Regions from separate parts of the Homo sapiens genome. Here region 2 is linked to region 1. The links are contacts of gene promoters, found by promoter capture Hi-C in human tissues and cell types (Jung and others, 2019). All regions are on one chromosome and are shown on one strand. Each heading gives the region's core, a stretch centred on a gene start or on the middle of the fragment in contact. The rest is flanking DNA. Distances are from core to core; before and after follow the strand shown. Region 1 holds the start of KIF23 (kinesin family member 23). Region 2 overlaps C15orf61 (chromosome 15 open reading frame 61).

The links. Contacts are between HindIII fragments. The study calls those that stand out against the background at their distance.
Region 2: a contact is called between a fragment that was not itself captured here and the fragment with the promoter of KIF23 in region 1, in 1 of the 25 tissues and cell types used here (aorta).

The regions. Positions count from the first base shown.
Region 1 is chr15:69,410,356-69,416,124 of GRCh38, reverse strand. KIF23 (kinesin family member 23) reads right to left here and starts at 1,776. Exons shown (of 24, transcript NM_001367805.3): 1 at 1,649-1,776; 2 at 62-131. The coding sequence starts at 1,659. It overlaps KIF23-AS1 (KIF23 and PAQR5 antisense RNA 1), which reads left to right and starts at 1,096. Exons shown (of 2, transcript NR_132971.1): 1 at 1,096-1,973. RefSeq lists silencers at 1,377-1,456, 1,487-1,606. The HindIII fragment of the contact is 14,046 bases long and covers 1-5,769 here.
Region 2 is chr15:67,525,899-67,532,091 of GRCh38, reverse strand. C15orf61 (chromosome 15 open reading frame 61) reads right to left here. Exons shown (of 2, transcript NM_001143936.2): 2 at 1,946-5,674. The coding sequence ends at 5,547. Among named protein-coding and RNA genes, the nearest start is that of IQCH-AS1, 7.2 kb to the right of the region's middle. The HindIII fragment of the contact is 3,545 bases long and covers 2,847-6,193 here.

The DNA of each region.
Region 1 (5,769 bases), core at 527-3,026:
AGAAAGGACTGAAGAGATAAGTTTCTTAAACACCACACATAAATTTACAGGGATACCTTACCCCAACTGGGTCTTTAAGGTTCGTTTGGGACCCTTTTTTCACGGTAGGTTTCCGGGGTGTCTTAGCTCTCCTGGTCATAGATTAAAAAATAATAATAACTTTTTTTTCAGTTCAACACGAATACAAAAGCCTCACCTAAAACTTATACAATCTTTCTAGGTTATCTGTAAATTATCCCTTAGCAGTTGCAAAACACTGCATCCCAAATAACATTAATAATCATAGTAGCAGAGTGTTTGTGGCATGCGTAATCCAAAAGTAATTAAAATTTGCTTTAGAATACATTTTTGGTACCAAAGCTACCTACTTATTCTCTGATTAGTTCTATACTTAAAATGGCTTGCATATTTTCTTGAGCAACAATTTAACAGAGGCACTACAAATTATAACTGCCCACACTTTACAGACTGACAAGCGATTAACTTCAATACACTATAAAAATGCACATGGAGGAAACCATTCTTTCGTCAAGGGTTACGCCTGTACTTTCAAGGAACAACCAGTCATTGAATGCTCAAAACATTACTCTTTGTCTCCAAACAAAATCTGGTCCCAAACTGCCAATTTCTTGGTTTCTTAAGTAGGGGCAATCAAAAAGTTATTTTGATTGATTTCACCATTTCTCTAGCATCTCATCTTTTTCCCTTCACATTTATCTATAGGCTAGATATACATTTAACACATTAAAATTAAGTAAGATTATTGGCTTCGACTGTAGTTTAAAAATATTTTTCCAAACATATTCTCAGATGAAACACAAGCAAATTCGTGTTATTCAGTGCAAAATACTTTGTGGTGGGCTTAAGTTAAACTCAACGTATATTTCTTATATATAATTTTTTTCATCTAAAGATTTTGACTTCGGCCTCTTAATAAACAAGTTGTCTTTTGCAAACGACTCCCTAAATGGTAATAAAGCCAATCCTCTCCTTTGCACGACAAATATTTCTTTACCCAGGAATGATGCTGCGCCGAAAATATTAGCTTAGGAATGTGGGCGGAGGTTCTCTGCGGCCACAAAATACAGCAGAAGTAACTGGCCTGTGTAAGCGGATGGGCTCGGCCTCAAGGACAGGGTGCTCGGCTGAAAAAAAAGCTAGCGGCGATCACCGGTGCCAGGGCTCTCCAGAAACGGAGCCCATCTAACCAATGCCCAGCACACTCGCTCTGCTCCACACACGAGACCACCTCCGACCCGCACTAAGTTGGCCAACTGCACTCTGGAGGCGGCGGCAGCCAGCGAGGGAGAAGGGAAAGGCTGTCCCGGGACCCCGAGGAGGACTGCCCCGCCCCCGGGAACCGGGTGCGGCGTAAAACAACCCCGGCTCCGGGCCGACCCTTCCTGGCCCCTTGGAGGCCCAGGCGGGGCGGCGGGGGGCGACGCGGCAGGGGTCTCCGCGCCCAGGCTCCCGCGGAGCGGCCACACGTGGAGGTTCCCACTTTGGGGTCGCGGCCGCAGCAGCACCGGGCGGGATGCTGTCCGCGCTGCCCGCGTACGGCCGCGGCCTGAGTGGAGACGCCTGCCCCCAGCCCCGAGGCCTCGGCCCCCGTCCGCCCTCTCTCCCTGCTCGGCGGCCTCGTACTCACGCTGACTTCATGGCAGCAGGCTCCACGCCGCCCAAACGCGCATGCGGGACGGCTGGCTGGCGAAGACTGCGGGACGTTAGGACCGGCAGCAAGAACTAGAACTTCGCGGCTAAGGCGCGGTGCTCTGCGAAGCCGGCGGCGACGCTAAGAGCCCAGGTGAGCTCCCGCCTGGCGCATTTCAAACGGGCCAATCAGCGCCCGTCCGCAGGGAGAGGCAGGACCTCCGCGGAAGTGACTTCGCTGCCGGAAGTGGCGCTTGTCTCCTAGGCGACCGACGCTGAAAGGGCCGCGGAGTCGCGTGTCAGGGCTGGAGGGAGATCTTGAGGTATGGTATTTAAACTCTTCCGCCTTGCGATGACGAAACTGAGGGTTTCTTTTCCTCCATCACAAGAAGTTCAATGGAAGGGCCTTTCCAGGGTTGATTCAGAGGTCGGAATGTCGTTCTGGTGAAAAGTGTTGTATTCCTGTGCTGTGCCCTGCTCCAAGTCTCAGGCTCCGTCTCTCTGGCTCCCAAGTCACCACATTATCTTGGCGTCTTTTCTCTCTCTGATTCACCTTTCCTGGGTTTCCCTCCAGCTCTGTCCTATATGTACATTATTTTATCAAATCTTTTTTTTTTCCTTTTTTATTTTTTGAGGTGGAGTTGCTCTGTCGCCCAGCCTGGACTGCAGTCTTCAGCTCACTGCAACCTCCACCTCCTAGGTTCAAGCAATTCTCTTGCCTCAGCCTCCCGAGTAGCTGGGATTACAGGCGCGCACCACCACGCCCAGCTAATTTTTGTATTTTTAGTAGAGATGAGGTTTCACCATATTGGCCAGGGTGGTCTAGAACTCCTGACTTAAGGTGATCTGCCTACCTTGGCCTCCCAAAGTGCTGGGATTACAGGCGTGAGCCACTGCGCCCGGCCTGTTTTATCAAATCTTGATTGTGTTTGATCCTGGCCTTACGGAGATGAATAAAATTTGGTCCTTACCCTTAAGGGGCAACCTTTTGAACCTACTCTTGCCTTAGATGAACTGATTCTATATCACTTCTGTCTTTGACCCTAAGCCGATGACTACCAAATACACATCTACACCTGGGCTCTCATGGAACTCTAGCCCCTTCTCAACTTCCTAAAGGACCACAGCACTGGTAAGGATAGTCACAATGTCCTTGGCCAATATTGTTGGTGCTCAGGAAACGACACCCCAGAGTATGGCTCTTTGGCACACTGAGTGCTTTGAACTAAAGAAGACTGAAAGTGCCTCAGAGAAGCCTTAAAAGCAAAGTCTGTCTCTGACTTTCTCCTGCCCTCTTGTCTCCCACCCCTCTGTGTCTCCTAAAGCAAATAATAGAAACCAGAATTTCTGTTCCCCAAGGCGGGTCATGGAAACTAGAACCCCTTTTCTCCCAAGCAAGCCAGAAACATTATTCTAGAAAAACCTAGAAATATTAATCTAGCCTTCCCCCACCTTTTTGTGTAAGAGCTGGCCATAAAGACATTCTTTGATGTACCTTGTCATAAGACCCTCGTTCCAAAAGGGTCTTGCCCTACACTCAGGAAGAAGGAAAGCTGCACAGAGAGGCCAAGAAGAATCTGAACAGACAGGACTTGCTGGATTCCTCCTTCAGTCTGTTACTATTAGATCATACTCCTTTTGTACAATCACATTTCTACACAGCTGTCCATTCTTCATCTCATCTAAGCATAAAAATGGACAGCTTTCCCTGGGTCTTTGGGTCTTCATTTCTGAAGGCACTTACATCCCATAAAACTGTGATTCAATAAGTTATCCATTTATCTTGCTAACCTGTTTTTTGTTATGGTAGTGTCAGCTGTGACCCTTAAGATGGGTAAAGAAAAGTATCACACCTTTTCCACCCCTACATTGCACATTAGGATGGTTCCAACTTTTCCTATTACAGATACAGCTATAGTGAATGAATGTGGAAATTTATACAATGCAGGTAAATATGTAGGAAACATTTCTAGAAACAGAATTGCTGAGTCAAAGAGTATACATATGTGTAACATTTCACAGATATTGCAAATCATTCTCCATAAAAGCTGTCCAAATGTACACTCCCACCAGCCTGTATGAGAGTGCCTATTTCTCCACAATTCTCAAAGTGTTATCAAACTTTTCAGTAGCTACCAATCTATTGATATCTCATATCAATTGGTGAGAAAAAACATGTAGTTAAATTTTTCATTTATTTTCAGATAAATGTTGTCTATTCATATATTTTAGAGCCCTTTTGATTCCTTCTCTATCAACTGTGTTCATATTCTTTGCCTCTTTGTTCTATTGGTTGTTCGTTTTTCTTAATGATCTGTGAAAGTTCTTATATTAAAAAAAAATTGGTCCTCATCCAAAATACGAGTTTAAATACTTTTATTTTTCACATTTTGGTTATTTTTATTTGTATATGTTTTGTGACAGCTTGGAAAAAATTTCAGGTAGACAGATTAATCCGTCTTTTCTTTTATGGCTTCTGTTTTGTGTCATACTGGAAAAATACATCCATTCTGAGTTTTTTATTTTATTTCTCATTTTTTGTTTCCTAGTGCTTTTATTGCTTTGCTTCCTATGTTGAAGTCTTTGAATGATTAGGACTTTGTTGTCAAGCTAGAGTTTGGTATTTTGTTGGTTTGTTTGTTTTGTTTTGTTTTTTGAGACGGAGTCTGTCACGCAGGCTGGAGTGCAGTGGCGCAATCTCGGCTCACTGCAGCTTCCGCCTCCGGGGTTCAAGCAATTCTCCTGCCTCAGCCAGGCTGGTCTTGAACTTCTGACCTCAAGTGATCCACCTGCCTCAGCCTCCCAAAGTGCTAGGATTACAAGTGTGAGCCACCGCACCTGGCCTAGAGTTTGGAATTTTTATCATTTAGGAATTGGGCTTGGTTGCTGACTACTTATATCCTAGTTGCTCTTCAGTTTAGCTTCTACCTCAGACTCCATTGGAACTCTTGTCACCAAAATTACCACTTCCTTGATGCTAAATCTATTTGACTTTTGTCTTACTTGGCTTCTTAACAACACTAAAAAATGTTGCCCATTCCTTTCTTCCCATGCCTTTATTTTTTCTCCTAGCTGTCTAGCCCTTCTTTCTCAGTCTCCTTTGTGAGTTCTTTTTTTCTCCCTTAAATGTTGGGGCTCAGGGTTTAGAGCTGGTCACTAGGTGTGCCTTTTCCCTAGGCACTCTCAAGCACTCATATGGCTTCACATCCCATTCATGTTTGCTCTTCTGAGCTCCAGAGCCATATATCCAGCTGTCTTCTGGATTCTCCACTTCGATATCCCACAAGCATCTCACATCTAACACATTCTAATCTCTTCTCCCAAACTTGCTCCCTCTCAGTGGATGGCATCCACCAAGCCAGAGTCTAAAGCAACATTGTTAGCTTTTCTCTCTTCTTCTGTCTCAATATTCAATCACTAAATCTTAACAGTTCTACCTACTAAGTAGCCAAACCTCCAAACTGCTCCACTTTTCTCTGTCTCCTCAGCCACCATCTTCTCTTGTCTGATAAAGACAGCAGTCTCCTAACAGGCCTCTCTGCTGCCACTTTCCAATTCAGTTTCCATTTTGCTCATCTCTAAATCATGGATCTGATTATGTCACATACCTATATGAAACTCTGCAGTGGTTCCCCATTGTTGGAGACCCACCACAGGGCCCTGAGACGCTTCCTCTGGGGCTCATCACCCATCACTGCCCCCTGTCCCCTCTAGTCATGTTGAACTGCAGTGCCCTGAACACGCTGGGCTCACACGCCATTCTCTGTGCTGTCACGCTCTCCTCCCTCCTTTCCTCTGACAATGCCTTGCCTTCAGTTCTCTGCAGATCTGCCAGCTACCCTGCTGTGGATACTGGGCCCCGTGGTACAGCCCCCACGCCCCCAAAACTGCCCTTTCCCACTCACTGCACCTGTTGACTTGTTTCAGCACTCACATTCCAATTGGCAGTCACTGTTCATTCCTGTCTCCTCTACTGGCTTATCCCCACAGCCTCACTAGATGGCATCGTTGCATGCCCAGTGCCTAGCAGTGCAGGTGCCCCATACATGGCTTGAAGGGATGAATGAATCATCCCTTCAAAGAACGCTCCAGTTGAGGACCCAGTTACATCGCACCACC
Region 2 (6,193 bases), core at 3,370-5,869, 1.9 Mb after region 1:
GGCTGGTCTCAAACTCCTAACCTCAGGCGATCCACCCCCCTCAGCCTCCCAAAGTGTTGGGATTACAGGTGTGAGCAACTGTGCCCAGCCTGTCCTCTTCTCTTTAATAATCTTAACAGCCTTATTAAGATATAATTCCCATGCCATACACTTCTTTCATTTAAAGTGTACAATTCAGTGGTTTGCATATAGTCAGAATTGGGCAACGATATCAGAATTGGGCAACCATATCACAATCAGAATTGGGCAACCATATCACAATCAATTTTAGAACAGTTTCATCAGCAGCAAAAGAAACTCCATGCCCCTTAGTGGTGACTCCCCATTTCTCCCCAACCTCTTCAGCCCTAGGCAACCACTAATCTACTTTCTGTCTCTGTAGATTTGCCTATTCTGAACACTTCATATAAATGGAATTTTATGAGATCTTTTATGACTGGCTTATTTCACTTAGTGTAATATTTTTAAGCTTCATCATTGCTATAGCTTGTATCAGTATTTCATCCCTTTTTTGAATGAGTAATATTCCATTGTGTCACTGTGCTACGTTATCTGTTCATCAACTGATGAATATTTTTGTTTCCACTTTTTGCTAGTATGAATAATGCTGATATGAACAATCATGTACAAGTTTTTGTGTGGACATATGTTTTCAGTTCCCTAGGGTCTATACCTAGGAGCAGAATTGCTGGGTCATATAGTAATTCCGTATTTAATATTTTGAGCAGCTGCCAAACTTTTCCAAAGCAGCTGCACCAATTTACATTTCCTCCAGCCATGCAGGAGTTTTTCACTTTCTCCACATTCTCATCCACACTTACTATTGTCTTTTTGATCACAGTCATCCTAGTGGATATGAAGTGGTATCTCGTTGTGGGTTTGCTTTGCATTTTCCTAATGATTAGTTGAACATCTTTTCATGTGCTTGTTAGCCATTTATATATCTTCTTGGAGAAATATGTGTTCAAATCAAATTTTCAATTGGGTTGTTGAGCTTTAAGAGTTATTTATATATTCTGGATATAAGTCCCTTATCAGATACATGATTTGTACATATTTTCTCCCATTCTGTGGGTTGTCTTTCATTTTCTTAATAGAGACCTTTGAAGAACAAACATTTTACATTTTGATGAAGTTGTATTTGTCTATTTTTTCTTTTGTCATCTGCCTTTATCCTTTTCTGAAATATTGTAGGTTGGTGCAAAAGTAATTGTGGTTTTGCCTTTTTTTTTTTTTTTTGAGACAGAGTCTCGCTCTATTGCCCAGGCTGGAGTGCAGTGGCGCGATCGCAGCTCACTGCAAGCTCCGCCTTCCAAGTTCACGCCATTCTCCTGCCTCAGCCTCCTGAGTAGCTGGGACTACAGGTGCCTGCCACCATGCCCGGCTAATTTTTTTATTTTTTATTTTTAGTAGAGACGGGGTTTCACCGTGTTAGCCAGGATGGTCTCAATCTCCTAACCTCATGATCTGCCCACCTTGGCCTCCGAAAGTGCTGGGATTACAGGCATGAGCCACCACGACCGGCCACCTTTTTTTTTTTTTTTTAATGGCCAAGCTTGTGTTTGTGGAAACTGTTTTAGCCACATTTTCATTAAAAGAGAAAAAAATTCCACATCTGATCTCCAATTTGTATTAGAAAACTACTCTGTGGACTGTGGTCACTACTAATAACACTTCTTATTGTTGGGAAAGCCCTGGTGAAACATTTGTCAAGTACAGAAAATGATATGAAAGTGAAATATAGTAATTAAGATTTGTGTTCTATTGATTGTGTAGCTTAAGTAATTTTTCATTACTAACATAAGATTTAATACGTAGTTAAAGATTCTGACTTGGCACTAGTCATTAGCATGTAATTGAACTAGTAAAAAAGATCAGTTAAAGCTGTGTTGATTACCACCTTATCTTTGAAAGGCGATTAAAGACCTCAATCATTGCAACAAGATTTGATCGTGCAGCCTTTATTGGACATTGATCTTTCAGCAAAGTGCAGTTACATTTTCCATTAATTTACAGTAACAGAGTTTAACTCTGATACTCTAGACTGTTGACCCAGGTGAGATGTAATGCTAAGTACTTGTTTAGGTTAAGATGCCCCCAAATGTCATTATTGTTTGAGTAACAGTAGATACTTAATCCACTAGCTTTAGGATAAGGTTTCTGTTATCTGCATTAGCTTTTCAGTGCAGTGAAACCAAGATCTTTGCCTTTTATGTCATCCCACTTATTCAAACATCATTCTTTAACAGAGTTAAAAGATATTTCATGAAGAACTATAGATGTTCTATGCTTACAGTTTTGGGTGAATATAAATGACATGAAGTAAAATGTACTTTAAAAGATACACGGTTTTAATAATTACAAATGTTTCAGCTAGGCCTGGTGGCTCATGCCTGTAATCCCAGCACTTTGGGAGGCCGAGGCCGGCAGATCACCTGAGATCAGGAGTTCAAGACCAGCCTGACCAACATGGTGAAACCGTCTGTACAGAAAATACAAAATTAGCCGGCGTGGTGGTGCATACCTGTAATCCCAGCTACTCAGGAGGCTGAGACAGGAGAATCGCTTGGACCTGGGAGGTGGAGGTTGCAGTGAGCCAAGGTCGCACCATTGCACTCCAGCCTAGACAACAAGACTGAAACTCCTTCTCAAAAAGAAAAGTTTGAATTTTTACGGAAGTCAACGTTAGAAAAATATTAATGCCCCAAAATGTGTGGTAAACTATAACTGTTTCTACAATTTGGCATTTTAGGACATCAACACTAAGAAAATAGAGATTTTTGTATTAGCAGCCTCTCTCACGCTCCCAAATAGGTTACTGCATCTTTATAGTGGCTCACAACTTACACAGGAACTAAGAATTTTGCCTAGGAATTTGCCTAGAAATTTATTCCAATACGTGATAATTCATTTGTATAGAAATAACAATAGAAGAGATGCAAGGTTTTGTACTAAAAGTACACCTTTATTAAAACAGTTTTGGTTGGATTAAAGATAAAAATCCTGTCAAAGAAATATGACAGAAAAGCTAATCAGTGGTTTCACCAATTAAGAAAACTACTGATATGCAGAAGAGAAGGGCCTCTTCAGCTCCCCACATGCCACTTCAGGGTTAGTGGGCATGTGCTATCAATGCATCTCTCCTTCTTTCTCCATCACCTTATTTTTGAAATTTTTTAATTAATGAAGTCCTTTAAGTATAATGGAGCAGAAGAATGTGGATTATAAAAACAGAGCTTTTGCAGAGACAAAAGTAAAATTGATGTACATTTTCGGGTAGAAATGTCTCTTGTTTCGTTCTTCTCAGATTACAGGTGGAAAAACCAAGACACAAAGGAGGAGAGTTATTAGCCTGAGGTCAAAAAGTAAGACAGCACCAATACTAAAAATAGACTCAGTCTCCTGACTTACACATTTATACTTTCTCCCTTTCAGGCCATAATACTTTGGTGTAATATGCAGCTTTAAAGAAAAAACTTAAACCATTGCTGTTCAATGGGAAGTATTGTTTTCAGACTACAAGTTTACAAGACTTAATAAATCCAATGAATGATATTTAAATTTTTAAACCACGCCTTTACCCATTGTTGAGTTAGTTCATCCTTCACCATGATCAACTCCGTAAGAGCAAGAGGTCTATTGATTTTCATGTAATACAAGAAAATATTACATTTACTTGTTATACAGTGAGCACATCAGACAAGAAATCAAGGCCCTGTTTAATGCTGCAAGCAGCAGAGAATTACAGAGATCAATAGGGTAGTTTGTCAAAGATGTTCTCCAAGGACACTTACCTATCACATATGGGCAAGAAGTCACACTGACTATAGCTATTGAAAAACAGGTAAGCAGAGTCAGCAGTACAAATTATCAGAAATCAAACAGGCCAGTGTGAAAAGAGGTGCAACTCTACTGAAAAGCTGTATTTATAGTCTGGTAATTAAAGACCATTTTATCAGCCTTGTGTTGGGACCAAACCTTTACAGCCACTATTGACAAGACCAGCAGCAATGAATGAGCAGTATTTGACTTAAAACTTATGAGCTATAGTTATTTAACTTTGCCCATTACAGAGGAAATCAGTTCTAGCCTTCCCTGCAAAATGCTAATAGCCAGTTGTTTTATTATTAATGAAGCTTAATGTAACACTATCTCCTTTGTGTAAGCCATTCATTTAACTAGTGTCAAGTATATTCTTCTGGACTAAATATATTGGCATAAGTACTTCTTTGATTAAAGTGTTACTTAGAATTGCTTTTAGACAAGTGAACACCACATATATTTGAAGAACAGTTCACTCTGTAGATCATTTAAAATGACTACCTTTAACGAAGCTAGTTTGTATTACTTCATTATTCTGGTGCCTTCACCTCAGTCACTTCCACTCACTTTCTCTACTGACTTGACATAAGCATCCAAATGTTGAATTTTATAAAATGTTTTGCTACAAAAATGTGTAAGTGTTGCAGAGTATCAGCAACACATTAACATAAAATGATATATAATGTATGTTTGTAATTATGGGAGAGATCATAAATCTTAAACACCCATTGGTTTAGAAATTAAATAGTTCTACTTAGTTCTCCCTAAATTACTCCAAATGTCTGAAATTTACCATTCATCTGGGTATTTTGTGACTACCCCAAGGATACATTTTTTTAAATGACTTGGCTTTCAAAAATGCAATTAAGTTAATAAAATTCAAATGCAAAAGTGCCATTAGGTCTTTAAAATTTCAGCCCACTCCTTATTGCCAATAAGTCTATGGATATGTACCATTTCAGTTAATTGCTTTTATAAACAGTTACCAAATTTATTTTTCTGCATCTTTCTAGAAGATCTTAATTGTTCTTACAGCTTTATAGGAAAGCTGTTTTAACTTTTAATAAGTCTGAGTTTCATTCACCTTGCTACACTTATATTAACCAGTTATTATTACATTTTACAAACGATATGGTTTTGGACTCTTTAAGCAACAAGAAGTTTCAACATTACACTCCAACCCCTCCTCCAGGTAAATGGCACAAGGCCTTTAAAACGTTTCTATTTACAATCCTGGCAGCTGAATGGTTTAGACTTGAGATTACAATTAGATTCTCATCAATTTTGGATTTGCCAATGATGTAATATTTCCATCATACATCCTAATGTCTTCTACTTCTTTTTCCATTGTTACATAAAAGATTTTCCCCCCTTCTCTTTTGTGTGGGCATCTATATTTTCTCTTCAGAGTTGATTTAAATTGTTAATTAACTATAGAATCTATTACATTGTAATCATTTTTTATCTGTAGGTTAACCTAGTTCTAGGGAAAAAATGGTGTGAAGCTTCATGTGTTTGTAGTTCACATCAGCTAAACAGAGTATGTAATATATAACGATGTATAAAAAGCTTCACCTCTTGAGGGCAATGATTCATCTTAAAGAAGCAGATACTGTAGAAAGAAAAAAGTATTTGCAAAAGTTTTATTTTAAAGGATCAAAAATAAATACTGCACATATACACAGAGAAAATCCACTGATATTTATGTTCTTTGACGCACACTTTCAATACATGGCACCTTCATCTTCTTTATTGAGAAAATAAACTGTTATGGGTCCATAACTGGTATGCACAGTCTCTGTGACTCTGGCAAATAACCAGGAGCCAAGTCCATATAATAAAGTTGGAATACCTAGAAAACAAACGAATATGTATAAACATCAATGCTTATTAATCATGCAAGTTACTGATCACGTATAACACTCTTCAGCAATGTTAACAAATTACAATGTGATAAAATATAAAAATATTAATCAACATTGACTCTGATTATCTAAGAGCTCAATTTCATCAACGTGGCACATGATGGCAATCACGTGAGTCCAGAGGTTTTCATACTATAGACAAGGCGGGTATAAATGTTAATTCGAGTACTTCATAAATTCATTACCCTCAAATAATCATGAAGTAATGCTATATTCTTTTCATAAATAAGAAAATGGAGAAGAATACTCATTAATTTAGTTGTAGACGCTCCTGATTATTAGCCTTGAGCTAAAATTACTAAGTTAACACTACTGTTTGTTTGTTTGTTTGTGAGATGGAGTCTCACTCTGTTGGCAGGTTGGAGTGCAGTGGCGCGATCTCGGCTCGCTGCCACCTCCGCCTCCTGGGTTCAAGCGATTCTCCTGCCTCAGCCTCCTGAGTAGCT